Linked DNA regions of Homo sapiens: regions 1, 2, 3, 5, 6 and 7 are each linked to region 4. Evidence: promoter capture Hi-C in 16 types of primary human blood cells and fetal thymus (Javierre and others, 2016). All regions are on one chromosome and are shown on one strand. The core of a region is centred on a gene start or on the middle of the fragment in contact, and the rest is flanking DNA. Distances in the headings are between cores, read along the strand shown.

What was found. Contacts are between HindIII fragments. The CHiCAGO score rates a contact against its expected background, and 5 or more counts as called.
Region 1: a contact is called between a fragment that was not itself captured here and the fragment with the promoter of VTA1 in region 4, in 1 of 17 cell types (monocytes). The highest score is 6.3, in monocytes.
Region 2: a contact is called between a fragment that was not itself captured here and the fragment with the promoter of VTA1 in region 4, in 1 of 17 cell types (fetal thymus). The highest score is 5.3, in fetal thymus.
Region 3: a fragment that was not itself captured here is called in contact with the fragment with the promoter of VTA1 in region 4 in 1 of 17 cell types (fetal thymus); the score reaches 7.2 in fetal thymus.
Region 5: a contact is called between a fragment that was not itself captured here and the fragment with the promoter of VTA1 in region 4, in 1 of 17 cell types (total B cells). The highest score is 5.2, in total B cells.
Region 6: a contact is called between a fragment that was not itself captured here and the fragment with the promoter of VTA1 in region 4, in 1 of 17 cell types (fetal thymus). The highest score is 5.0, in fetal thymus.
Region 7: a fragment that was not itself captured here is called in contact with the fragment with the promoter of VTA1 in region 4 in 1 of 17 cell types (fetal thymus); the score reaches 5.5 in fetal thymus.

Annotation. Positions count from the first base shown.
Region 1 is chr6:142,710,521-142,714,428 of GRCh38, reverse strand. No RefSeq gene overlaps it. Among named protein-coding and RNA genes, the nearest start is that of HIVEP2, 230 kb to the left of the region's middle. The HindIII fragment of the contact is 259 bases long and covers 1,570-1,828 here.
Region 2 is chr6:142,853,742-142,857,622 of GRCh38, reverse strand. The region is part of intron 1 of HIVEP2 (HIVEP zinc finger 2); the gene reads left to right. Among named protein-coding and RNA genes, the nearest start is that of HIVEP2, 89 kb to the left of the region's middle. The HindIII fragment of the contact is 1,329 bases long and covers 1,044-2,372 here.
Region 3 is chr6:142,949,743-142,953,431 of GRCh38, reverse strand. HIVEP2-DT (HIVEP2 divergent transcript) reads right to left here. Exons shown (of 3, transcript XR_001744397.3): 2 at 3,041-3,284. Among named protein-coding and RNA genes, the nearest start is that of HIVEP2-DT, 5.1 kb to the right of the region's middle. The HindIII fragment of the contact is 2,521 bases long and covers 884-3,404 here.
Region 4 is chr6:142,144,929-142,148,917 of GRCh38, reverse strand. It overlaps VTA1 (vesicle trafficking 1), which reads right to left and starts at 1,655. Exons shown (of 8, transcript NM_016485.5): 1 at 1,519-1,655. The coding sequence starts at 1,630. It overlaps NMBR (neuromedin B receptor), which reads left to right and starts at 1,796. Exons shown (of 4, transcript NM_002511.4): 1 at 1,796-1,874. RefSeq lists enhancers at 954-1,474, 1,729-1,868, 1,632-1,926. The HindIII fragment of the contact is 1,973 bases long and covers 254-2,226 here.
Region 5 is chr6:141,484,989-141,488,844 of GRCh38, reverse strand. It overlaps the pseudogene RN7SKP106. Among named protein-coding and RNA genes, the nearest start is that of GJE1, 650 kb to the left of the region's middle. RefSeq lists a silencer at 46-246. The HindIII fragment of the contact is 2,596 bases long and covers 394-2,989 here.
Region 6 is chr6:143,063,193-143,067,170 of GRCh38, reverse strand. The region is part of intron 1 of AIG1 (androgen induced 1); the gene reads right to left. Among named protein-coding and RNA genes, the nearest start is that of AIG1, 4.3 kb to the right of the region's middle. The HindIII fragment of the contact is 795 bases long and covers 1,514-2,308 here.
Region 7 is chr6:142,879,560-142,883,814 of GRCh38, reverse strand. The region is part of intron 1 of HIVEP2 (HIVEP zinc finger 2); the gene reads left to right. Among named protein-coding and RNA genes, the nearest start is that of HIVEP2, 63 kb to the left of the region's middle. The HindIII fragment of the contact is 1,776 bases long and covers 931-2,706 here.

The sequences.
Region 1 (3,908 bases), core at 450-2,949, 570 kb before region 4:
TCATCTCATTGCCCCACCTGCCTCAGAGGAGCTCCTTACCACCCCCTACCCCACTCCCCGACACTCCACAGAATATGCCTTCTGTTAGCTCCTGCTAATGAAAAACAAACAAACAAACAAACAAAACCGCACAGGTATTGAGGGTGTGATGATATTCATAGGAGGATAAATCCACTTCCAATTTCCCTCCCTCAGAACTTTGGCCTCCCTCCCAGGGGCAGATTCACAGCTGTCAGGGCTGTGGAACACAAGCAGTCCAGGAGGCTGAGCAATTGCACTCTCAACCAAGTCAGGCTGCCAGGCTGCCATATTTTTGTAACGTGCTGGGCTCTGTGAGGAGTTAAGTGAAGGGAATGCTTGCTTGCTGAAAGGGTAGGCGATTTGGACATTGTCGGCAGGTGATGAGCAGCATCCCCTAAAGGGGGTTGGGACTGCAGCATTTGAGCTTTCACCAAAGCTAGCAGAGGTCTTTGGAGTTTCTTTTGGCTACTGGAAATTCAAGTGTTATAAAGGGATTCAGATTGGGCTTGGTGGCTCATGCCTGCAATCCCAGCACTTTGGGAGGCCAAGGTGGGAGGATCCCTTGAGGCCAGGGTTTGAGAACAGCCAGGGCAACATAGTGAGACCCTGTCTCTACAAAAAGCAAACAACTTAGGTATGGTGTCATATGCCTGTAGGTCCCAGCTACTTAGGAGGCTGAGTGGGAGGATTGTTTGAGCCCAGGACGTAGAGGCTTCAGTGAGCTGTGACTGCACTCCAGCCCGGGCAACAGAGTGAGACCCTGTCTCTTATGAAAAAAAAAAAAAAAAAAAAAAGGATTCAGTTGAGAAGAAATATCCATTACCAGAAGAGTCTCCTTTCTCTTTACCTGGAGACAGAGGCTGTGAGAAGAAGCAAGAGGGATTCCATTGGGGACTCATAAAAAACAATGGCATATGAGAACATTCTCTTTTATACTCATGGTGGTGAAAGATAGGTGTCTTTTCAGTGAGAGGTTCAAGTCTTCCTGAGAGATGGGGGTAAAATTAGCTGCTCCTAGAAGTGGAAGCAGGGGTCATGAGTGAGAGCTGGGTGGTTACCTTTCAGGCAGAATTCTGGAGACTGTTTCACGCCGAGAGCAAGACCCACTGGAGTAGTGAGGCTTTGAGGGTTGGAGCATGGCAGCCACATGCTCCTAGCACGGTTCTGTTGGTGATGTGGGTCACTCACCACTTATGTTTGCTGAGAAAGGGTGCTCTTCAAACAACAAAAAGTGATCTGACAGAGCATCACTTTAGTTGATCGGGACCCAGTAATCTTCCTTTCCCTCTCATTCTTCCTTCCTTATCTTTTGGGTTCTTTTGAGAACCCTCTGACTCAGTGGTCCTTGACCTTGGTCATATATTAAAATCATTTGGAACATTAAAAAAATACTGATGTCCAACTCTCACCTGCGGAAATTCCTAATTCTTTTCAGTTGAGTCTGGGCAGCAGTATTTTTTAAGGCCCCCCAGGTGATTCTAATCCACATCCATGATTGAGTATTGCTCCTAGTCATTCATACTGCAAACCAAATACAGATTTAAAGCTTAGGAGAATCCTTTTCAGCATGATTCTGTAGGTCCATGTATATCTGCATGAACAAAAGATTCTGATCAGTAAGACCATCCCAATTGGCTTTAGTAGCTTTCTTCACTAGAGTTTTCTTGACCAGATGCAGTTTGCATTCTGTTCAGAAGCCTTGCCACAACTCTATGAACACTTTTAACAAATATCAAATATACAAGAAGCTCTGAAATCTACTGGCTTATAAGGTGACTTGCCATCTTGATGTTTCTGATTGGAAGCTTTTTACAAGGACCATTTAGGATTCATGCTGCCTCTTTACTAGTGAAAATGTAGGCTGAAGGTTACCAAACACATCCAGAAAGAATTTCCTTTGGCTCAAGATTTCAGTCCTTTTCTTACTCTCTCATTTGCTCAAGATTTCTTGGGACTCATTATAGGATGGAACAATTCCACTCCCACATTCTCACTTGGCATTTAAATCCTAGGTTGTCATCGAGACATATCCTAATCACTAATGCATGCAACAAGCACACCAGTATTGTTTTTTTTTCCCTTTCTCCTTGTTGTGTGGTGAATAGAAAATGTACAGTTGGGGAATCAATCAACCTCAGTTCTAGTTCCAACTGTAGCTAAATAGCTATGTGACTGTGGGACAATCTTCATTTCTTCATGAGTTTCTTACTTGTAAAACAAAGGAGTTGGACTAGAATCTCTGGTTTTCAACCATTGTTGTTTTCTTTTTGTTGCTTAAAGTGAGAGTGCCCTTTCTTCAAAAACATTCTTTCTGTAAAAGTCAACATGTAAAACTGATGGTCAGAAAGCTGAATTGTTGTGGGGCTTTGGGGTCCCTGAAATCTTCTGAGTTTCCTCATTTTCTCCTCCTAAAGCTACTCTGCCCTTAAAGGGGTTCTGTAGGACCCCTAGGACAAGACAAAGAAGATCTAAAAAATACGGGCTAATTAGTTAAGGTATTTTCTGCTGTATCATTCTCCGAGTTTACATGCATCCACACATGAACATATGTGTGCACATGAACATATATCCACAGGCACACAGAGTTTGATTGATTGGGCTCAAGAGGTAGCAGATACGGTCAGACTAGGAGGGATCAGGATTTGGAAACTAGGCATATTCACTACAAAGAGAGGGGTTCTTGGAGCAGGCCCTTGGAAATGCATTGTGCCTGCTTCTAGGGACAGCAGGGAGTAAAATGCACTATGCCATCCATAGTTTGGCAACTGGCAGGTGCTCAATGGTCTGCTGGCTCAAAAACTTGTAGCAGATGACATCCCAAAGTGGTGACTTCATGACTGGAATTCTGGGATAGCATCCTGGAGAAAGATCTGTGAGGAAGCAGGCTTGAGACAGCTGGTTACTCAGGAAGTCCATGATCAATGGAAGTTCACTGCCATTGGAAGAACCATTCCTCAGGTCTCACATATCCCACACAGACTGGTAACTTCCAAGTAAGTTATACATCCTTTATAAATAGCAATGATACATAGCATGTCTCATCATCTCCCCTGGACCTTCAGGATATTTCCATGATTTTAAATGCTTATCTGAGGGACAGCTGCTTAGCTATCAATTGATACTGTTGTCTCAAAAAAGATTTCATAGGATTTTCTTTACCCCATAAGAATGCCCATTCCCAATTCAGAGGGGATTTCAAAAAATAAGGAAATGACTTGGGGTTAGACATCCATTTCCTTAACACAGACATATTTAACTTTAAGCTTGCTGAATCTTAGATATTGGTCTAATATGTCTGGGATCCTCCTAACTCCAAGTGAAGAGGCCTAAAATTTCTCTATTTTTACTGGAAAAAAAGAGAGAGTTTGACTTTCAATGCCATACTTTTTTTTTTCTTCTTTTTTTTGAGACAAAGTCTTGCTCTGTTGCCCAGGCTGGAGTGCAGTGGTGTGATCTCGGCTCACTGCTACCTCTGCCTCCCAGGTCCCGGTTCAAGCAATTCTCCTTCCTCAGCCTCCCAAGTAGCTGGGATTACAGGCACATGCCACCATGCCCAGCTAATTTTTGTATTTTTAGTAGAGACAGCATTTCTCCATGTTGGCCAGGCTGGTCTTGAACTCCTGAACTCGTGATCCACCCTACACGGCCTCCCAAAGTGCTGGGATTACAGGCGTGAGGCACCGCGCCTGGCCCACCATACTCTTAAATAAAATCAAAAGCCATCTCGAGACTATTTCTTTTGGAACCTTCCTATGCATCAGGCTGCATAGTCTGCAGAGTGATCCGTGCCATTCACGTGATGAAACCATTGATAACTGGCGTTATTCAAATAAGTGAGATATCAGTCAACACTGTTTAATATGGTGTTTAGCACCCTTAAAAACAAT
Region 2 (3,881 bases), core at 459-2,958, 710 kb before region 4:
ACCAGTGATGCCCAAAACTGGTTATTGCAAAGAGGGTTGTTTTTCTAATGCAGTGTGGTCAGCGCAGCTGCACCCGAAGTAGAATTCTGCTCATGATGCAGCCGTCTGTGGATTTCTTTAGCTGACAAACCTATAGACAGGCAGGCATAATTATCAGTTCTAACCTGGTCATTATGGCCGGATGGTGCTTGGAAAACAATTTGCACAAGTCCTGAAACCCCGTGAGAACATACAAAATAAGAGCATTTGGCGAATATGCAGTTATTTCCGGGAGTTGTGAATGACTTAGATCTAGGGGCTATACAATAGCTTATTGTAGAAGAACTGTTTGAATTCTCTTTTTATTTGGATTTTTTTTTAAGTTGACAGACAACATCTGATGGCAAATGACTTTTTTTTTTTTTCTAATTTGCTCATGAACTCAAGCTTCACTTTCTAACAGCGTTTTAGATGTTTCTACCTTTTTATTTTTGGCATTCGCTGGTTGGTGACAGTGAAGTCATGATTTTAAAATTGGGGTTACAGAGATGTTGTTTCCTGGCCACAGAGTCTCACAAATGCACTATCACCACTACGTTTCTGAACAACATGAGAAAAATGATCACAGAGGAGACCATTTGGGCAACACCTGACTAGATTTTTGTCCTTTTGAATAATGTAGAATGCTTCAGAACCCACTTGAAGTACAGTAATCCCCTTTATCTGCATTGTACCTTACACGGAAGTCCAGGTTGGTCTCGGACCAGTCACTGAGGTTTCCCCTCCACTTCCTGCTGTGGGCTCAGTGTCTTTGGGGAGCCCCTGCTAACCAGAAGTCTCCCTCACAGGTCATTTCTTTGTGTCATCTTTCTAAGGATAAAAAGGGGCATTAGACTTTTGAAAGTTGAGTGATATAACCTAGATTTCATTGCTGATTGCATTTTATGGTCTCCAAGCCAAGCATTTGGTTTGTGCATTGAAGGCTTTACGCTTGTCTGTTTGTATCAGACTTTACAGTTATCTCTTTAATAAGTAAATTACTCACGCTTCTCTTTTGTGAAGCTTGATTTCAGTGCTTGATCCAGGCAGTGTGCCTGGGCTTAGCAAGGCCCCCTCTCCAGCTGACTGCTGAGGCAGTTCCAAAAAAGGTAGTCATTACTGCTATTGATTTCTGTAGCACATCGGTCATGTTAGAATTATTTGCAGTGAGAGGGGAGTCAACTCCTTGCATATGACTTTTAGTTTCACCACCAATGTATTGTACATTGAAGTCTTCAGTATCTTTGAGTCTTCAGTGTCTTGGGGGCAGTGACCCAAGCAAGTCAAAGGAGATTCTTTTCACTTTTTTCTCTGGGAATGGCTTGGGGAGAATCCTGGATATTAAAGTGGTGCAGTAGGTGGAACTGGGAGACATAAATTCTCCTTTTCTTTTTTTTTTTAACCCCTTGCTGTCTGTTTTTTAGTGAAAAGCGATGCAGTTACCTGCCATTTCCCCCTTACCAGGATGTGGTAAAAAGTAACGAGAGAATGGTTGTCAAGCGTTGTCAAATACTGAAGACAGATATTTTATAAAGTGCCAGCTTTTACTGAAAACAAACACACCAAAAAACAACAAAACCAGCAAACAAGCATAATTTATCAGAAGGTCTCAAATTTCAGACACATTAACATCCTGGTGTTTCAGTTGGGAAAACATAGCCCTGTGAGCTTGTGATAATGTTGAACTGGCAGTAATAAGAAATAAGTGAAAGAATACTTTCACTTCTTATATATGCCTCCACCATAGTGTATTTTTAATAAGTTTGCATACTGAGATTTTGGAAATCTGTGGATACAAATATAATTTTACACTTTCATACCAGTAAAGCCTGAGTCCAACGTTGACACTCTTCCTTTTAAATGGCTCACTTAAGCATATGAACAGAAGCACTGCATAAAAAACTCAGTGGGGAGACTCAGGAAAACAGATTCCTTTCTTATTGTAGATCCATGAACAAAACCTATCTCAGCAGATAATTCAGTATAGTTGAGAGGTTCCCCAGAACTAATTTTGGTTTCTACCACGTGGTTATTAATACATTAAGTATTTGCCCATTAAAATTAAAGGCTCCTCAAATTCATACTGTTTGTGCCCATTTTGTTTTTGTTTGTGATTTTTATTATAACACAAAGACAGTTTAAAACACACTGTACTCTTCTTCTTCTGTCCTTCCTAATGATAAGATGGTGCTCTGGGGATGACGGTTACTTGTACAGAAGGTTGTAGCGGAAGAGGCCAGTGTGGAATGATTAGTCCTTTCCCTGCTGTGCACACACAAAGATTGGTCCTTCATCCTCACAGTCAGCATTTCTCATGTGGCCTGGAGCTCAGTGGAGACTTCGCCTATCAAGCTTGGGGTCAGCTTTTGCCTGTGTTCAAAAAAGTTGCTCTTGTGGGTGAACTTACCACGTGGGTGGTTCATCTATTGTAGCCCACAGACACTCCATGTGACTGGGACCCTTAATGAAGCGGGTTTCATAAGCTCCCTCTTACCTACTTTCTTTGGAGCCAATTCCCTTCTCTTTACCTTTTGGGAAGAAAACCAGCATGGTGGTGAGAACTGAAAGTGAAGTTGCAGATGACTAAGCCAAACTTTTTCTGCTTTTAGTTGAGGAAAAAAAGGACCAGAAAGAAGTTACTTAACGTTCCTTGCCCGGGTCATGGAGTCATTTGTGGTGGAGTGGACCTGAAAGCTGTGCCTGCTTTCATTCTTTTTCCTACATCCGGCCCAGTAGGACTTTTCCCTGGGGGAGATTATTGCTTTAATACTGGGTGGCTGCGAGCATTTCAGGAACGTGTGCATGTTCCTGGGTTGTCATTTGATGCTTGGGGAGGAATACAGCTGCTGTTTATGGAAAAGCTTAAGAAGCAGGATGTGGCATTGGTGGCAGGGTTCACATTCACAGAGGAGTTTGTGCAGTGCCTTCCCTGGAAAATTTCAGTTACATTCAGGTGATACCAAGTTCATCCCGTGCCCTTTCTGCCAGCCTCCTAAAGTTCGGCTGTCTTGATTGGACATCTTCAATTAAAAAACAAATGTCACACTTTGTAATTCTGAAGAATACTATGGGTTTTTTTGTAGAATTTCTCTTGGTTGAGCACGATCTTTAGGATGAAGTTTGAGTAATACAATTAGTCTAAAGGATTTTTGTTATAATCACTTGCTTAAACATCAGGAGCCTAGTGACATGTACCAAAAAGTTATTGCAGCAGAGTTACAATGTTACCGGTTTTCTTAGCTCCAGCATGGTTAGGCATTTGGAGCCAGATAAGTCTTTGTTGTGGGCGACTATCCTGTGCATTGTAGAATACTTACCAGCATCCCTGGCCTCTACCCACCAGGGTACAATAGCATACCCCTTCCCACTCCCAGTCTTGGCAACCAGAAAGAACTCCCAGACATTGCCTAGTGTCTCTTAAGGGGGCAGAATCACCCTAATTGAGAACTACCACAGGCTAACAATAAATCTGAGGGGGATGGCACAGCCACCAGCCTGAACCGGGTTTTTATGAACAACACAGAGCTTGAATTTAAGAAACCAGAGTAAGAAACAAAGACTGAGAACATTATGTGACTAAACAGTGAATATTCCCAGTCAGTGACAGAGTGAATGGCAACCCCAACCAGGGAATTCCCCGGTTGCCTTGTGGTAGGAATTCCCTTCTCTTCCTCAATTCTCTTGCCCTCAATTCTAGGACACTCCCTTTTCAAAGGCTGCTCTAGCTTCTGATTCACTTATTTTCCCTGCCCTCTTTTCTTTTCCATTCTTCTGCCATCTCTGCTGCTACCAATGCCTGGACCACCACTGCTGCCCTGACAAAAGACAAGAGCCACTGAGATTCTTCCTACTGATGCCCCTGG
Region 3 (3,689 bases), core at 895-3,394, 800 kb before region 4:
TTTTCTCTTCGATGCTTCCAACTTGCTACCTTATTTTACATATAATTTCTAGGTCAGGGCCTGAATCACTGCACAAACTTAGTGACAACTATTTTACTTTTTTTGTTTTACTACCCTAAACTCAAGGTTCAAACCTATATAAAAGAGGGTCAGATCTACCAGATATCACATCAATAGATAAATTGGGAGTGGGTCAAGTCACTGTTCTCAGGAATTCTAAAAGTTCAAGGACTTAGGTACTAATCAAGAAAAATACATTTTTCCCAAAGTGTTTTATGGCTGACAATGAGAAACAACGCTTCTCCTTTCGGACCATATAGTATGCCAAATTTATATAGCCTATGTTTAAACCAAAATCACTATTCTCTGAAACCCCCTACTATACCTTGCCCATGTACTCTCATTTCTTTAACATTGGAAATTTATGTTTTACCCTAAGAAACCACTGCAAGAGCTTGGGAGGAATTTGGACTTTGATAAGCTCTCTCTGCTATTTTTCTTTTTCATGCCTCCCTCTCTTCTTTTCCCCTTCTCTGTCCCTGCTAGATTGTTAGGAGTTTCTATTTCAGAATCTTATGATTGAAAGGGAATCCCCTAGTTGCTTGAATGAGGAAGTGGAGGCTAAGAGAGGGGACCCAGGTCTCCCGCTAGCTCAGAGTCAGGACTAGCACCTGCACTCTGGGCTGACAGAGCCACCCAGCTTCTGCCTAAAAAGCCTGGATCATCATGCCCCACTCCACAGGCCCTGAGCACAGGCATCCTCTGTGTCCAAAGACAGTGGCTTTTGCGTTTGCCTTTCCCTTCATCGTTTCACACCTTTCCCCTTCAATTTGTATCCTATTCCTAGTTGCCCTAGTGTGCCCATGTCAGTCTGGTCCAAGCTTTGGATCTCTCTGTCTCACTCCCCCTCCAGACCTTCCTATATTATCTCCATTCTATGCTTTGTCAAGATAAATCAGTTTGATCACTAAGCTAGCTGTCACTCTGTAAGGCAATCTAATAAATTAATCTTTCATAAGAAGTTAATGACTGATTAAGAGCTTAGGATAAGAAGAGCCTACCACTTGTAGTTAGCTTGTACGGGAAGATTTCTACAGAGGCAGAGCCTTAACCCCAAGCAGTGACTGTTAAGTGGAGGAATTTCAGTTCTAACCAATTTTGGAGTTGGGGGAGGGTGATGGAAGAAAGTAGGATGGGGGATGATGTTAATGTGGTGCTCTTAAATTGCTAACATTGTATCATAAGCCTACATTTCCCTGTATCTAAGGTGGCAGTTCAGGCATTGGTAATCCTGGACAGTCTTACTGGCTGCTCCTGTATCTGATATTTGTTCATCTTTAAGAAGGTTATCTGTGAGACATCAGTGAGCTTCCTCAGAATAAAGGCCTGACTGGGCATTCCTTGAGCATTCTCTAGAATATAACAAGCATTTCACAGCAGATTGGACTGAAGAAACATGCAGTATCCTTCCATAAACTATGGGCAGGGTTGGTCCTAAGCTAAGCTAGAAAACCATCAAAGTTTGCTTGCATCTTGCTCATCCCCACAGCTGACCTCTCCCTCCCCTCGCGCCCTCTATGCATTCGTATATTCCGTGCCCACCATTCCCTCCTTCCCCTGCACCCTTCTCATCCCCAGGGCTGGATCATTCATGGGATCATTTCTTTCCTGACATATTTTTTGTACAGAAGAAATCTGGTTAAAATAAGAGCCACATGAATATCTTTAAAGGAGAAAAAGAGACCAACTTGTCATAAAGGATCACGTGAAATTTGAAGAATGTGACAAACAGGGAAGAAGGGAGTTCTCAGCCAGCCAGCCCCCATTCAATCTGAGGGACAAAGTGAGCTAGAAATTGTATGTAAAGGGATGCTTCTCAGACTTTAATGAGAATAGAAGTCATCGGGGATCTTATTCACATGGAGTTTCCCAGGCCCTAATTTTGAGGATTTTGATTTTATAAATCTAGGGGGTAGCCCAGGCTTTTAATTGAGCATTGCAAGAGATATTGCTACAAGTGGTCTTTGGAATATATTCCGAGCAACTCTGGAATACAGGGTGACATTTGGTTAGTTGGATGTCTGCATGCTCTGTGTGCCTTGTAAAACCCATGAGGGTAAGCACTTTATCCTTCAATCCTAACAGATGTCATCTTGAATCACAGTATGGCTCTGGCTGATCGGTCCTTCATTACCACTATCACCCTCCACTCCTGAGCCAAAGGATGTATAGTGGGATCAAAAGACTTGTCTACATTAGAATGATTGGATTTGTATCCTATTGACGATTCAACAGACATGCAGATTTTCCCTCCAAATTCTTTTCTTCAACTAATTTTTGGGGACCTATGTATTCTTAACATCACATGAATCATGACACTGCTTAATTTTCCTCCATATACTAATTAAAGCAGATAAGTAGGAAGCAAGAGATCCATCAGAAAGGCAGTTCTAAGTCATTACTCTTTATTAAGACCTAAGGCTATATTCTATTTATTCATCAGAATCCCATAGCAGGTAACCCCTTTAATGTCTTATTTATAGTACCATAAATTTATCTGAGAGAGTGGCATGCCAGTTAATTCATTTTGCACAATTTTATGGGGGGACTTTATTACAATGATTTATATAGAATTTATAGGAAATTAGGCACATCATCTTGACTAAATCCCTAGTTATAAAAAATAGGGAAACCTAAGCCAAAAGACTTAAGGGATATAGTGGATACTTTCCGCCCCCTGGTCTGCAAGACTCCTTTCTTTTGGGAACAGCTTTTTTTTTTTTTTTTTTCCCCATGAGGACCTTCTCCTCTTCAGGTCTAGTCATGACCAAATCAGATCACTCCACCCAAGACCTGCAAGTGGTTCAGGTGCAATGACATGACTAAGGCTGCCTGAGCTATCTGGAAAGAAGGTCTTTTCCTGCTGTGTTGCTTATCTAGGAAGAAGATAATCTGGGAATGCTGCCACCAACCTGCAGAATGTTTGCCTGAAGGGCAAAGTGAAGCAGAGAGATAAGAACAGAGATGGAGAAGGCCTTACCGGGTAATAATATTTGAGCCTCAGGATCTCACTATGTTGAAAGTTAGTCCTTGAGTGATGGTTATGTGAATCAATGAAATCCATTTTTCCTTAAAGTCATTTGAGTTGCAGATTTAACAGAGAGAGTCTTGATTAGTAAGATGGACATGGCTGGTTCTGGAAACTTCATGTACAGTGTCTCCTGGTACCCAGTTCTCCTGCCTGGATATATCAGGTCCCATGCTCTGTGGCAGGAGGTCTTGTGCTTTAGAATACATAAGTAACAATTGCTTTACATGTTAAAAATGCAGAGTCCTGGGCCCACAAAGATTCAGATTCCATGGGGCTGAGTGATAAAGGCCCAAAATTTGCCTTTTATGAAGCTTTTCTGGAATTCTTACGGTGACCTGAGAGGCCTTCTGTTCACTGGCTGTCTCATTTTATTCTAGCCACACCATTCCCATTGATGTCTATAAAAATTCCAGGTATTGGAGCTGTATCTTGGCTGTTCCCTCCATGTGAAAAGCTCTGTCCTCCAGATATCTCCAGGTATTTCCTTCAAACCATGGCAGAAATCTCCCTTTTCAACAAGTCTTACTCTGATGTTCCTATTTAATACAGCATCAGGACAACCCTCACCCCACCTATATCCTTTACCCTATTTTATGTT
Region 4 (3,989 bases), core at 406-2,905:
CATCCACTCCAGTCACAATAGTCTACTTACTCCTCCTTCCAGCAAGCCTCTACTTCGGGACTTTTATAACCTCTATGGAGAATACTCTTTCCCAGATGGTGCAAGGTATGCCTTTCACTCTTTTATTTCCCCAAATGTCAATTCAGTGAAGTGTTCCTGACCACTATGAAACTGAAATCCCATCTGCACTCCCTGCCACCACTACTCCTGATACTCTTATTCCTTTTCCTTGCTCTATTTGTCTTCATAAGCTTTTAATACTCTATGTATGATAGACTCTATATTGTTGAAACTCTCTACCTCCATTGTATGTAAGCTCCAAAAATGCAGCAAATGTAGTCACAGCGCCTACTAATGCTTGATACAAAGGTAGCTCAATGAACACATACTGAATGAATATGGACCCTGCTTGAGGAAACTGAAGAACAAGTATAATAAAAATGATGCTGTAAAATTTGAACAAAATGAAGTAATGCACAGAGAATAATCAATTTGCTGCCCACAGAAGTGGTGACATTTGGGTTAGATCTTGAATCATGAGTTTGCCAAGTGCAAGAAAAAGGTGCACATTCCAAGAGAGTGGAAGATGGTAGGTCTGAAAAGGCCTTGCACATTTGAGAAACAGGGTACATTTGGAGTATGGCAGAGATAACAGTGACCAGATTTTAGCTAACCTTACAATATACACAACAATGGACGCATTATATCCAACTTCTCAACTCTAAATATCCTTTTCAGAATTATAATTGTCCAGTTACTTGTTTTATTTGCAGTAAAGTTAAGAGTACAGAATACAAAATAAAGTTAACACAGAATTACTGGCACTCCCTTTACTCACTACAAGTTTGAGCAGAGTTAACCTATATTTTTTTTAATCAAACTGTAAATTCAACGTATAACACTCAAAGTGAAAATACTGCTTTCAAAGGTCTCAACAGCGGGTATTATTCAAAGAAGTCAAAACTAAAAATTCTGCATGGTAGGAGAGAGCAGCTGGGTGGGGAAAGGTCAAATTCAACTGCTTATTTAGTAGCAGATACTCCCCATTTAACCAAATGAGTTTCTGATTGGGCTTGCATGCTGTCATAAATAATATTCACTTATTACTATGTTTTCAACTAGTCTATCGTCCTTTTATCCACATCACTCCTTCTTTCGGACACTCACCTTCGTTTTAAACCTAACTCAATTTATTTTCAGGATTCCTATTTGAGACAAGAAGCTCTTGTGTGTACACACACAGAGAAAACCTTGGAAGATTATATTCCACAGTTCAAGAGCCTGTGTAGTCAGTACTGGAGCATTTAAGCACAAGATAGGAGAAGCAGTGGACACCATGGTGTTTTGGGATTCCTACTGCCAGGGGGTGGGAACCCAGGGAGTTCCCTGGGTAGGCTCGAGGTCAAAGCTCAGGTTTAAAGCGAGGGGGGCGGGGCATGCCCCAAGAACCTCAGGGAGGTGTGTGGGCCCTAAAATGCAACTGGGAAAGAAAGGGCGCGGCCACTCGGAAAGACTCACAGTAATAAGCCACCACAGGGTCTCGCTTGTCATGCTCCTGAGCCGTCCTCAGATGATGCTGTATGCTCTTGAACTGTGCGGGGAGCGGGGGCAGCGGTGCAAGCGCGGCCATCTCTACTCCGAACTCACCACTTCCTACTCGCGCTCCACCGGCACTTCCGCTTCCGTCTGGGCGGTAGCGCGCACGAGCGTTCAGAGCAAATGCTGCCCACTCTTCCGTTGCTCAGCGACGTCAAGTCAACTACGGATCCCCAGCTGGGACAACCTCAGGGTGCTTGGCTCTCGGCGGTTAGAACCCACAGAAGACCCGAGCATTTTGGCGCTTATGCCGCGCATGGCGCTAGCGCTCTCTGCTGGTAGGAGGAAGGGTTTTTGTTTTGTTTTGCTTTTTTGTTTGGTTTGTTGTTTGTGGCAAAAGGAAGGATAGAAAAGGAAAAACAAGAAAATAATGTATGTTGACTGGGAGAAAGTATAAAGGCGAGAATTGCCTTTGGCGTCATTCAGGAATTACCACTTCCAGTTAATATGCCACATTAATATTCCATATAGCAGTGTCCTTTAGAAGCCTTTTTGATTTTAGAAACTTTAATTTCAATACTTGCATGAGAGAGAAATAATGTGTTTAAATTGTAAATTAAATTTTTCTATGTTGACATACTGGATAAAATAATCAGATTTCGCGCCAAATTAAGCTAAACATATGAAGCTTAAAGAAGATTGAACTTTTGTTCTCAGCTGGCTAGTACGTATTTTAGTGAATGAATAATCTGTAGATCACCTTTTTTTTTTCTGGAGAGTGATTAACAATTTGTAAAGTATTTTCATATTTATTATCTTGTCTTAATGTAAGATAGGGTGTTTGGGACGTTTTCAACGCTGGTAACTCTTAACCATTGTACAGTAGGCATCACTTTTCCTTCTACCCTCAATGACTTCAATTCTCTTCCTCTCCTCTCCATCCCTTACTTATATCTTTCAGGACTGTACACTTTATTTACTTCCTCCAATAACCTTCTTTATTTTATCTCAGTCCTCAGTTTTGACAATTCATCTTAAAACTAGTTTTCACTGAAATCACACTATCCCCAAGAGCCAAAATCTCCAGCTCGGAAATTCCCCTCTGCCTACTATTTTCTGATCACTCTCTCACCCCCAGAAGAAACCGCTCCATGTCCTCATATTATCCCACTCCACATACGTTGCCTAGACCTATTTGCAAAGTCCATCATCTTATTCTGGGTCGGGCTTTTTTACTCAGCCTGAAACTCAGTTCTGTCTTCTTCCCCAATCTCAGCGGCATATTTCCTACCACTGGAGAATGTATGGTTTCTTTCTCTTTCTCTTACTCCCACTATTTGGACTTTCCAGTCAAAAGTTGCTAGATTGGTAGAGAAATCAATGAAGAAAAGCAGAGTTGGATAACCATAACTGTTTTCTTTCTATACTCACAACTTTTCATTTATTTGTTTCCTATTACTTCTTGATTCTCAACCGCAGCTGCCCTTAAAGATCAACTTTAAAGCCCACTCCAGGCATTCTCACTTAATTGTTCTAGGTGGGATCCTAAATGTCAGTATCTTTAAAAGGTCCTCATGTAATTTTAATGTTACGTCTAGGGTTAAGGACCAGTGCTGTAGTCCACAGATGGTGTTTCAAACTTCTCTCGCTCTATTCAAGCTAGGCACTCAGCCCCAATTTCCTTGGTCTACAACAGCATTTCCTGCTATTGAGATTAAGGCCACCACCAGATATGAATTATTTTGCCTTGCCTCTACCACAACTTAAAGTAATAATAACTAGCTAGCAGCATTTGCTGAGCATCAACTATGTATCATGCATGTTTCTAGGGTCTTTATATTAATTTATTTAATTTGCACCACAACCCTATGAGGAACATATCATTATTATTTTACAGATGAGAAAAATAAGACACATAGAATCTAGATAACTTGCACTAGGTCACAGCCAGGAAGGATGAGTATTCCACATTAAAATCTAGGTATTTTGGTTTCAGAGCCTGTGCACCTAGCCATTACTACTTGACTATGATGTCTTTCTAGATCTTATGTTTTATCTTTTCTCTATTCCATCATCTTATGTCTGAGAAACAAATGTTCCTCTTCCTGGTAGAAGGCTGCACCCTCCTGTTACTCTCCTGATCTCCCCCTTCAGAAGTGAATTTTGCCACTCTTTCTCATTTGCATACATTCATGTGTACTCTTATTTGCATACCCTCATGAGCAGGACTGAGGGAAAAATAAGAAAGTGAAATGGTTGGAGTTGGATTTTACTCTCTGATCTGCCAACACATGCTCTTTTCTTTTCTTTCTTTTCTCCTTCCTTCCTTCTTTTTTTCTTTCTTTTTTTTTTTTTTTTTTTAGACAGGTTCTCACTCTGTCACCTAAGCTGGAGTGCAGCACACTATCAGAGCTCGCTGCAGTCTTGGACTCCTGGGCTCAAGGATCTTCTTG
Region 5 (3,856 bases), core at 442-2,941, 660 kb after region 4:
GTAATGAAATCATTACTGAATGTGTACACTAGAGAAACTCTTACATATGTGCAAATTTAGTAAATGCTCCCTGTCCCTTTGGCCTGATGAGTTCACCTACTGCTCCTTTAAACAGCTACTGACCTGCTGCTAGACTGTAACTTCCTGTTTCTGCATCACCCTTCTCCACTTAAGCCGTTTCTCTGAAAACAAATGAGATAGAAATGCTGGACACAGGAACACTCAGTATGTGCCTGTGTTAACACTACTTAAGGGAAATCCTCAACAATTGGGGCTAAAAGGCAATGGCTAAATCCTGTAGCTTCCTTGTACTGGGGTAGAACTAACCCAAGGTATGTTCCTTACAATCCCCAGTGGGATTGTGACTCAGTTGTTAACTGTGGTACTCAAGCTTGTTAAGACGTAACTTTATTGCCCCTTTTCTCTTACCTATTTCCCTTTCTTTCTTTTCTCATTTTTGGTGCCTGGGATCAACTTCAAAATAAAGTGTCTGTGTCCAAATCCTTGACTCCATTGGATTTGGTGGGGGAAGGATTAAGACTAAACAGAATATGAGAATGTCCATTCCAGCATGATTTGTAATAGTAAACAATCAGCAAAATTGAGGCTTTTAAATTTTATTGTGTTTTATAGTAGCTTAGCAAAATAAATCAATAATTTATTTTTATATCTAGAACAACCGAGAATTTACATTCAGAGATATTAAATTTATAATATCTTCATAAATTGGAATTGGAATTAATTTATAATATTTTCTTATGTGAAGTCAATACTACTGACTATCAAGACTTCTTATATGAAGTCAATACTATTATCACTTTTTGGTGTAAGTGTGGAACATACATTCAAATGACTACCAAGTAATGGGATTATATGCATGCTTAGAAATAAATACAGATATCAAGTTCTGAATAAGTGGTCATGGTAATATTTATTCCCAGATAATTGCAACAAACCATGTAGAAATTATATATTTCTTAGATGAATCAACAATTCAATTGTATTATACTGTGTATTAGTCTGTTCAGGCTGTCAGAACAAAATACAATAGACTTGATGGCCTAAACACAGAAATGTATTTTCTCATAATTCTGAAACTGGAAGTCCAAAAGCAAGGAGCCAGCAGGGTTGGTGTGTGGCGAGGGTTTGCCCCTTGGGTTGCAGATGATTGGATGCCTCCTTGCTACATTTGCTACATGCTGTCTTGATCTTTTCTTTGTGTCCTCCTGGAGAGACAGCTAGAGAGAGAGAGAAAGAGAGAGAGTGAGAGAGAGGAGAAAGTTATTTTTCTCTCTGGTGTTTCTTCTTATAAAGACATTATTTCTATTGGATTAGTGTCCCAATTTAATGATCTTATTTAACCTTAATTATATCTGTAGAGGCTTCTTCCCCAAATACACAAATACAGTCATATTGGCAGTTAGGCCTTCAATATATGAATCTGGGGGAAGGAATATAAATATTTAGTCTATAATATACTCACATTCTGTACTCAAGACTTTTTATTAAAATAAGTTACAAGGAACTTATCATCCACTGATTACTAAGAGGCGTTGGGAACCATATGCAAATAATTTTTAATCTTGATCCTTCTAACACTTTATTACAAACTATTCATATCTAGAATTTAAGATTTGGATGAAACTTTTCAGATTATCTACTATAAGCACAACGTACAAGGATATTTCTATGTGTTTCTTGGCAAGGTGCCAGGATCATACTCTATTTCTGGGCGGAGGGAACAGTGCATTGTATTTACCTAAATATTTAGAGAGTCTTCTTAATATTGACTTATAATATTTTTTCTTATAATGTCTATACATTTGACATAAATATGCCATCTGGAAAATGCTGACCATATGTGTTCTCTGATTCCAAGTATCACTGTATTTATTTTCATGGTAACCTAGCTTCAGAACAACTCAAGTGCTCAAACCAAACACTGTAATATGGATACTGCCTGTCAACTAACAGATACTTTTTCTATGATTTCCTCATAAAAAGTATTTGCACAGGCTGGGTGTGGTGGCTCAGCTGTAATCCCAGCACTTTGGGAGGCTGAGGTGGGCGGATCATGAGGTCAGGAGTTCGAGAACAGCCTGGCCAACGTGGTGAAACCCCGTCTCTACTAAAAATACAAAAATTAGCTGAGCGTGGTAGTGAGCTTCTGTAATCCCAGCTACTCAGGAAGCTGAGGCAGGAGAATCATTTGAACCCAGGAGGCAGAGGTTGCAGTGAGCCGAGATCACGCCACTGCACTCCAGCCTGGGCGAGAGAGCCAGACTCTGTCTCAAAAAAAAAAAAAAAAAAAAAAGGATTAGCACGATACAGAACCCTTTTCTCATAATGCCATTTCAAAATTAAAGTTATTTGTTTTGTTGTTGTTGTAGTTGTTTTGGTAAAAGGAAGAAGAAGAAGAAGAGAAAAATTATGGATATGAGGGCAATCTAAGAGCAACATCTATCAACCATTTGATTGCCAGGGTTGGTGCAGCAGATCTGGTTGACTAGACAGGTGTTCCCTTCCTTCCTCACCACTCCATATGCGTTCCTTCCAAAGCTGTGTGCTCGGTAAAAGAGGATGACCATCCGCGATGGAGAAGGACCCATCTTCAGTCAAGGGCACGTGAGTAGATGGGCTTCCCTGCTAGAACTTCCAAACAAGCTCTCAAGAAGAGAAAAATCAATCACATGATATTATTCTTCACCTCTCTTGTTTATTATTTATTGATTTATTTTGTTGCTATTGTTGAATAGTTCATATAGAGTAAGTCTGGAGAAAAATAAATTAAACGGTAAGGACAATTCAGTGATTATCCAATTGAACAGCTGTATGTGAAATAACATCATTATTGGTATTACTTTATTACTTTTAGGGTTTGAATTCTTGTGTTCAAGTGTAGTTCTTTCAGATATTGTTGCTGTATTATCATCTCTAAATTTGTAAGTTGTTTCTTATTTCACAGGGACATAAAGACTGGAAACAAGCTTCATTGCCATTGGGGTTCAGTTGTATCTAAGTGATAAGAGAAAATTTCTTGGTGTTGTAGAAGAGCAGAAGCCATTGTTCTCATGCCATGGCTGAGGATAAATGTGTGGGCTTTGACAAATGGCAGACATGGGTTTTTGCCCATTGATTTTGGAGATCTTCCTGAGAATCATCTTCTTAGGTGTGGTAGGCAACTAAAATAATTGTTAATGGCTTCCTGAGATTCCTTCACTTAAAAATATCTTGAAAGCAGCTTTTCTGACTGTCATTTTGCCACCTCTCAGCAGTTTTATTGGCCACTAGTTCTGTGTCTTAAACCTCTTTACATGTAAAATACTTAAGAGTGCTTTCAGTTTTAATGTCTAAACTCTTATCTATTCAGTAGTGGATATTTGCCACTCTCTTCTAGTAAATATCTGGTTTTCAAATAGATTATATGGTTATGTGAGAAAAATCCCAGAATTAAAAAAAAAATCAGTCCTATTAAATTAACCACATACCTCCATCACACCCAAAGTTCTTGCTGCTTTTCCTCATTCTTTCAAAAAAATTTTTTATGGTTTCAAAACTCCATGCTGATAGTTTTTATCTTTTGTAATGATATAAATCAAGAAAATATGTCAGGAAATAAAATTGATATAATTTCAATACATTTATTTTTATATTGTTTTATTTTGTATTAGACTTGATTTTTATGATAAAAGTCAATGAAAGTTATCAAAATTTAGAAAAATAAAAATGAGATGAAATGTATTAAAAGGAAATCTTTAGACAAATTTAAAGGAGTTTAATGAAGCAGAGAATTATTTGGGAATCCAGTAGCTCTCAAGAGCCAGCAGAGTGGTTCAGAGATCTCACTTCTGCAAAG
Region 6 (3,978 bases), core at 662-3,161, 920 kb before region 4:
ATTTACAGACAGGATTTGGCTCTGTCACTCAGGCTGGAGTGCAGTGGCACTATCATAGCTCATTGCAAACTCGAACTCCTGGGCTCAAGTCATCCTCCTGCCCCAGCCCCCACATAGCTGGGACTACAGGCACATGCAAGCACCCCCAAATAATGTTTAATTTTTTGTAGTGGGAGCCTTGCTGTGATGCCCAGGCTGGTCTCGAACTCCTGGGTTTAAGCAAGCCTCCTACCATGGCCTCCCACAGTGCTGGGATTACAGGTGTGAGCCACCATACCCACCCTTAATGTTCTTTAAATAAATATCTGAGTGATAAATTACCTTGAAAAGTCAGTGCCTGGAAAGAACTGTATTTTTCCCAATAAATTGTTATACCTCCTTTCTTTCAACATAAGGACAATACAATCAAATGTGTATTGTTTTTCACCTTAGTTGCCCTGAAGATTATTTAAATTTGTTTCTCAATAGCAATAACTAACCCATCTCTCGTATCTGAAACATATCTTTCTTTTATTTTCAAATTGTAATTTCTTACATTTTTTTGTTATATCACAGTGAAAGTCAATCTGTAATATGTTTTGAAAATAGGCAGAATTCAGGCCAGGCGCGGTGGCTCACACCTGTAATCCCAGCACTTTGGGAGGCCAATGCAGACAGATCACTTGAGGTCAAGAGTTTGAGACCAGTGTGGCCAACATAGTAAAACCCTGTCTCTACTAAAAATACAAAAATTAGCCAGGTGTGGTGGCAGGTGCCTGTAATCCCAGCTACTCGGGAGGCTGAGACAGGAGAATTTCTTGAACCTGGGAGGCGGAGGTTGAAGTGAGCCAAGATCACCACTGCACTCGCCTGGGTGACAGAGTGAAACTCTGTCTCAAAAAAAAAACAAAGAAAATAGGCAGAATTCATATATTAAGACTGCTCTACAGGGTCCTACAATTAATCCATGTAAATGAAAAAACAATGCAACTTAGAGCAGCATTTATCAACCTTGAATGTGCATAGAAATCACCTGATGATCTTATTAAAATGCAGACTCTGATTCAGAAGCTCTGGGGTGGAGCTGGAGATGCCACATTTCTTACAGGCTCCCAGACAAAGTTGATCCTGCTGGTCCTCAGCCCGCACTTTGAGTAGGCAGGGCCTGAACAATATTCTGCCATGACATGAATGAAAAGCCAGTCTAGGAGGAATAATGGGTATGATACGGCCCTAAGAGAGGATGACTCTCAAAATGGCCAGTACTACAAACTAGAGCCAATGGGATTCCCAGATATGTTTCAATCTTTAAAAATCAAGATGTCTTACATCCATCATCAATATTTTAAGTTTTCTAAAAAATCCAGTTCATGGTTTTCAAAGAAGTTGATTCTGACTCATCTGTTAGACTCTACCATATACATATGAATAATGTTCTGGTTGATACATTTTTAAATTCCTATCATTTTGAATGTTTTTGGGAGGAGACAGGACAAGAAAAGAATACTCAATGAAAATTTGGGAAGAGAAAGCTTCCATTTACTTAAACATTTACTAAACACCTATTATACCCCAAATACTACTTTAAGACCTCAAAATACATTTGCCTTTTTCTTTTCATTTATTTATGTTGGTTTTATCCTAATTCTTCTTTATTATCTTTTGGGGCAATTATCATGTAACACACAGCATAATCATTTTGCTAGTGAATGAATCCACATCACTTGAAGAAAATTCATCAGCTGTGATATTGACTAAGAAAGTGTTAATATTTGAGTAACAGCTAGTTTAAATTTTCTTTCTTTCCAGCTTATTTCCAATTAAGTGTATTTCTTCTCCTGGCCTGACATGTTACTTAATGATAGTCTCTGAAATACTTCATAGTAAAGACCTAGTTTTTCCAAAGTTGTCCATGTCAGGCCTCTAAGCCGAAGCTCAGCCATTGTAACCCCTGTGACCTACACATATACATCCAGATGGCCTGCAGGAGCCAAGAAGTCTGGGGCAACCGAAAAACCACAAAAGAAGTAAAACAGCCAATTCCTGCCTTAACTGATTAACCAACATTACAACATTCCACCGTTGTGACTTGTCCCTGCCCTACCTTAACTGATCAACCGACCTTGTGACATTCTTCTTCTGGACAATAAGTCTTATGATCTCCCCACCATGTACCTTGTCACCCCCTTCTCTGCTAACAATAAATAACCACCTTTTACTGTAATTTTCCATTAGCTACCCAACTTCTATAAAGCAACCCCTTCCCCATCTCCCTTCGCTGACTCCTTTCTCAGACTCAGTCCGCCTGCACCCAGGTGAATTAAAAGCTTTATTGCTCACACAAAGCCTGTTTGGTGGTCTCTTCACACAGACACGCTTGACAGTCCAGTCTTTACAAATCCTCATATTGCCCACTGTTACACATATGTATGTCTCCTCCACATAATTTCATGGATGAAGTAGGAAAAAACTTGCATTTTTGTTAAAGCTAAAATTAACCAGTTATCTACTATACATAAAGGGCTAGCTGAGTCACTGCATTTATTTCATATAAGTACAAAAAGAGTTAAGTTTTTTTTCTAAGTCAGAGGCTTTAAAGCCAAGTATACTAGTTTTCTATTACTGTGGTAACCAATTACTATCAATTGAATGGCTTAAATGACACAAATTTATTATTTTACAATTCTGGAGGTCAGAAGTCCAAAATACACTACCATTAAGCTGTCAGCAGGTATGTGTTCCTGGAAACTCTAGGAGGAAAACCATTTTTTTGTCCTCTCCAGCTTCTAGACACCTCTCACACCCCTTGTCTCCTGGCTCCATCCTCCATCTTCAAACCCAGCATTGTCGTATCTCTCTCTGACTTTCTTCCAGTCACATCTTCCTCCAACAAGCTCTTGTCTTCTGTTTCCCTATTCCTTTTAAGGACCCTTGTAATTACATTGGGCCCAATGGGATAACTCAGGATAATTACCCTATTTTAAGGTCAATTGATTTGCAATCTTAATTCCATCTGCAACTTTAATTTCCCTTTGCCATGTAACCTAATGTATTCACAGGTTCCTGGCATGAGAATGTAAACATCTTTGGAGGCCCATTATTCTGCCTACCACACCAAGACAGTGTTCTTTTTCCATTTACTAACTTCAATTTTCCAAAAACACCTTAGTTCTCTTACAGTTTCTCAATACTAGGAAAAGAAACCATTGGAGAATAACAGTATAAGATTACTGGTAGCAACAATGTGTATTTCAGTTTTTGACCATAAGCTCTGAATCTACTGGAATGACCCTCATACCCAAGGAGAGAAATGAATACAGCCAGAATGGCCACTGCCACATAATCATCTGCTCCTGGATGCATAGAGCCTGAGATTCCTGACTCAGATCCTGGTAAACTGAAGCCATGGAATATGGAATCCAACTGTGGCTATCAGGATAAATGATTCCTGCAATCCAAGTTGGCTAGAAAAAAGGGCCTTCACATTACAATTTTAAAAAGTTAAACTCTTGCAAAATTACTCCAATAAACTTAGACTCATTAATATTGTACAAGGCACTAGGTAATAAAGTTTACGGTCTTTTTAACATTAAAAGTGAAAAGTAAAATGGCTAAATTATAGTAGCCTAATCATTTCATGCCATTACTGAGGATTGACAGGTTGGTTGTTTTAACAGCTGTACAATGCTTAAGCTCTAAGGATTCTAAATCTCAAATAATAAAAAGAATAACACTTTGCATGAATGTTTTTATGAATATATCTCAGACATACTTTCTCACAGGCACTCTTTGTTAAAGATAATTATTATGTTTCAATCAGGAGCCACAGAGTAAAAAATTACAACGCTGGCTAAAGGTCCTATACAATCTGAAGCTAAATATGAAGCAAAGTAAATGTTTCACATTTGAATCTACTGTCTGACTTCTGGGATAGAAAAAGTCCTGTATGGTGATTAGTATTTAAAACAGGCAAGTCCAATCATTGAATGCTAAAAGATA
Region 7 (4,255 bases), core at 569-3,068, 730 kb before region 4:
TTAGTAGTTGAATGAATTAAGCCTTCACAATGCATCTAATTAGAAAGAAATTATTAAAATATTGGTGAGATCCATTGTTTATGTCGATTTCATTGTACTTTTCCTGAGGAGCTGCTGGAGACTAGCTTTACTTTCATAAGCATCACACTATATGAAAAAGTTTCATTTGAGGGTTAGTTCAGATGCTACTGTTCTTTGCCCTACGTTGTAAGGGATGTTATTAGAAGCTATAAAATTCTTCTCCCTTTCTTTAAAATGTATTTGCACTTTTATGTGTAGGAGTGTGAGGGCAGAAGTAAACATGTAGGAGGGTTATGTATTCTTCATTAAAAATATATTTCACAAAAGATTATAGTTTGTGTGGGAAGGAAATAGCTGCTTGTCTGTTGATTGCACTGTGCTTATTCCATATAAGAACTATTTGAATTGAGTCAGGATAACCTCATTTTGATAATCTGATGACTGCTTCTGCTTGGAGAAGAGAATATAATTTCAAGGCTGCGTGCTGATGGGCAACAGTAATTGTTCTCTTTTTGGCAGAGCTTAGCATGGAATCTGCTTTGGTATTTTTGTAACTACATATGCAAATCTTTTCTCCCAAAGCTTTTCCCCCCTTTCTCTCTCCATGTGCAGAGCTTTTTGTAATCTTCAGGACTGTGAAATTCCAAAGGTGTGATATCGAATGCTATCCGTGTATGATGATGTGTAAACCTAAGTTAGAGCAAAATCTTGGCTTGAAGTGAAGTCTTTTTGTTCAAGCAGATCCTGTACTGTAAGCAGATTTCCCTGTATACTTGGTTTCTATGGAGACACTTTTATTACTTATAGATGATCAGACTATTTGAATGTAGTATGGGTGGTTAGTTTATCAGCTTTGGTCAGTGCAGGTGATGGAGTTTCCTGGTTAATATGTGGTCCTTTCACTAAGCTTCCTATTGTGTTGCAGGGTTTAGGAGAGTGAAGCTAACACCAAAAACCAACCTAAAACATTGAGGTAATGTGACACTGAATTTTACCTTCTTAAAGGTACATTACGCCAGCGTTATGTAAACGATAAAGAGAAACCCTCAAAATTAGGAAGATTCCTAATTGACACTGTCAGAACAATGGAATGACCCATTGCTAAAGCTCATTCTGAGAGGGAATATATGATTCTTTCTTTCTTTTCCCTCCCCTCCCCTCCCCCCCTTTCTGTTTTTTATAGACAGAGTCTTGCTTTGTCACCCAGGCTGGAGTGCAGTGGCATGATCATAACTCATTGTAGCCTTGACTTCCTGAGCTCAAATGATCCTCCTGCCTCAGCCTCCTAAGTAGCTAGGACTACAGGTGCTCACTACCACTCCCGGCTATTTATTTATTTATTTTTTGTGGAAACAGGATCTCACTGTGTTGGCCAGGCTGATCTCAAACTCCTGGCCTCAAGTGATCCTCTCACCTTGGCCTCCCAGCATGCTGGGATTACAGGCATGAGCTACTGCCCTCTGCCTCTTCTACTTCTTTTCTATGTAATCAGTGAGTTATCGGTATTGAAGGACTCTTTAGCTTTAGGAATTCTTCTTAGTGATTATCCAAGTTTTAAAATGTTTCATACTTCACTGTAGTCACCTTATAGATGAAGAATATAAGGCCTAATAAATGGATGGGCTTTATACTCAAAATTACACATTGTATTGACAGTGGCTTAAGGATAAGCTCTGCTCACTGGAGCTTGTCTGCTGGGGCTTAGGAGCTGAAAGGCTCTGACCTCGTATATATGATGTCAGGAGAGAGCGTGATGACTCTGGGTAGAGTCCTCCTGCAGCCCTGATAATGGTAGCAAACTCTGATAATTAGGGCAGTGTTTACAGCTTTAACTGTGTTATCTTAATCTTCCTGTGACAGAGGTTGGCAGTGGCCATCAGTAACTGATGTGTAGATCCACTGTGAGGCACTCAGATTTCTATAACAAGATGTCATCATTTGAGTCAGCAGGACTAGAAGCTCATGTTGAATGGTGGCTTTTAGGAAGGACTTTCATAGAGCATGAGACTGGGAACTCAGCGAGAGACACAGATCTCTGAGGAGGCATAGTATGTAGAGATAAGTGCATTTTAGTGGAAATATTTTATTCTACTCTTTTTACTTGGAAGAATATACATTTTCTAAGAGAGAAGGAGATCTGTGAGGTCTAACTATCCTGATAGCTGAAAGCAGGACCTCAGAGACCATATTTTCGAATACAGATGACAGAACTCAGGTCCAAGACTTTTTATTAAAGGCATTCTTCTAACTTCACTAAAGTTAGATGACACTATCTGATTGCCTCAGAACTAAAGGATGCACAGGAATGTACTCTAATAACATGTGTAGGGCCATTCTTACTGTGTCTCAAATCTGGTTGCTCTAGTTGTCTACATTCATTTTCTTGGAATTAATTCACTTGCTACAGAATTAGTCTTAAAAAATTCTCTTTCCAAACTTTTAAATTTTTAACTGGACATTTAAAAATTATTGACATGATGATTTATAGATATTTAAACAACTAATTGCCCACAAGTGCCTAATTTTCCATAAAATCACAGCCTGACTCGTGTGAACTGGATAAGGCCATATCCAAAATTGTTTCCTTCTGTTATTTAGGTTAGTTTTATATGAGTGGAGAGGTATTCATAAGGCCACATGGCATAGTCCAATAAAGAATTTATTTCCCTCCTGAGGGAACAAGCTTAAGAAGGTTCAGAAACATACAGTAAAACCATGAAAGAGGATCTATGCATTTTAACCATAAAGCATAAGATAAAAACTTATTTCCTCAAGAAACTTGAGTCTAGTATGGGGAAAAAAAATGACATTTCATGCTTGATCCAAACTGAGTACTAGAGATGTTAAAGATGCCTTACGTCTGAACCCCAGTGGTTCAAGGAATGGAAATGCCAGTAACTGAGACCAGAACTGCTGGGGAGAAGACACATTTTATTTTATATAACTGTTCTGTCGAGATGAGGGTGTGAGGAACCTGCAGTTGTGATTGTGGCCTCAAATTGTGCCAAGGCATTGATGGATGGAGGGAATCTAGGAAGAGCCCAGTTGTAGGCCGAACTTTGCCTGGGGACTTGATCAAAGAGAGTCTGAGCCACGCAGGCCAAATGGACAGGTTTGGACTAGGATCTCAGAGGTGTAGGGCAGCTTTCCCCGTTTGTAATGAAGTGCTGAAGCAAACCTTTCTCTTGGATATGGAAGACTGTCTCAAAGAGAGGACACCGAATGCCTTTAAAGGTATAAAGCTCCCAGGCCTCAGAGAATCTGGACTTTTAAAGGCAAGTAATGATCCCTGAGAAGAGAGGCTTCTTTGTCATCAATGTAGGACACGCTGGTGACTGTGTCTGGTGGCAAAGGCTTGCCTGTCAGTCCCACTTGAGGCTCAGCTGTCTCCACTGGGAGGGTCCAATTCCTCTCTGACCTTTGTTCCTTCTCATTGGAGTCAATTTTTTTGGTGTGGCTTCACCATCTGGGGGAGGGTGCAAGTTATGGGGTTGTTGGCAGGAGCATTGAATTTGGGTCCTAGTGAGGGTGAATATCTGAAATGTCTTGACATTCTACTGTGTTTGCTGGTGGGAACTGTTCTCTGCTGGAGAGAGAGCAAAGAGAGAATATGAGAGCTGAGTTTAGAATCCTGGGAAATATTCCTGCTTTGGGGACGAATGAATAATAGAATCTAATAAAGATGACTAAGAGGAGTAGTGAGGGGGTAGGTGGACGCCAAGAAAAGCACCATTATAGGAGAGATGAATTATAGAGTTTCCAAATTATCAATTTCATTCACTGAAATTGGTGTTCAATTGAGGGTATTCTATATGCCAGGTTCTATGCTAGTCCCTGTAGATACAATATGAACAAGACATAGTCTTGGTCCTCAAAGAATTCATTGGAAGTCAGAGATCATGGCCCATGTGGCACTATTGAGTGACTTTTGCTGGGATTGCAGTTTAAACCAGGGAAACAGAACGCAGCCTGTGGGTGAGCCATGTTTGGAGACGGGCATGGGAGGGTCAGAAGGAGGCTGGAAGGCTGCCTGGAGAAGAGACTGTGGAAGCCTGGGGAGGGTGTTAATGAAGTATCTGACTGTGTGATCTGCAGCTGCTCAGACAGCTGAAGTCAGATGGCCTGGGATGGTTGAGAATCAGGGACCCAAAGTCAACATGAGAGCAAAGAGCCACTCCAGCAGCTGTGAAGAAGTGAAAACCAAGGAGAGAAGGGGGTCTTGCATTAGCAAGTG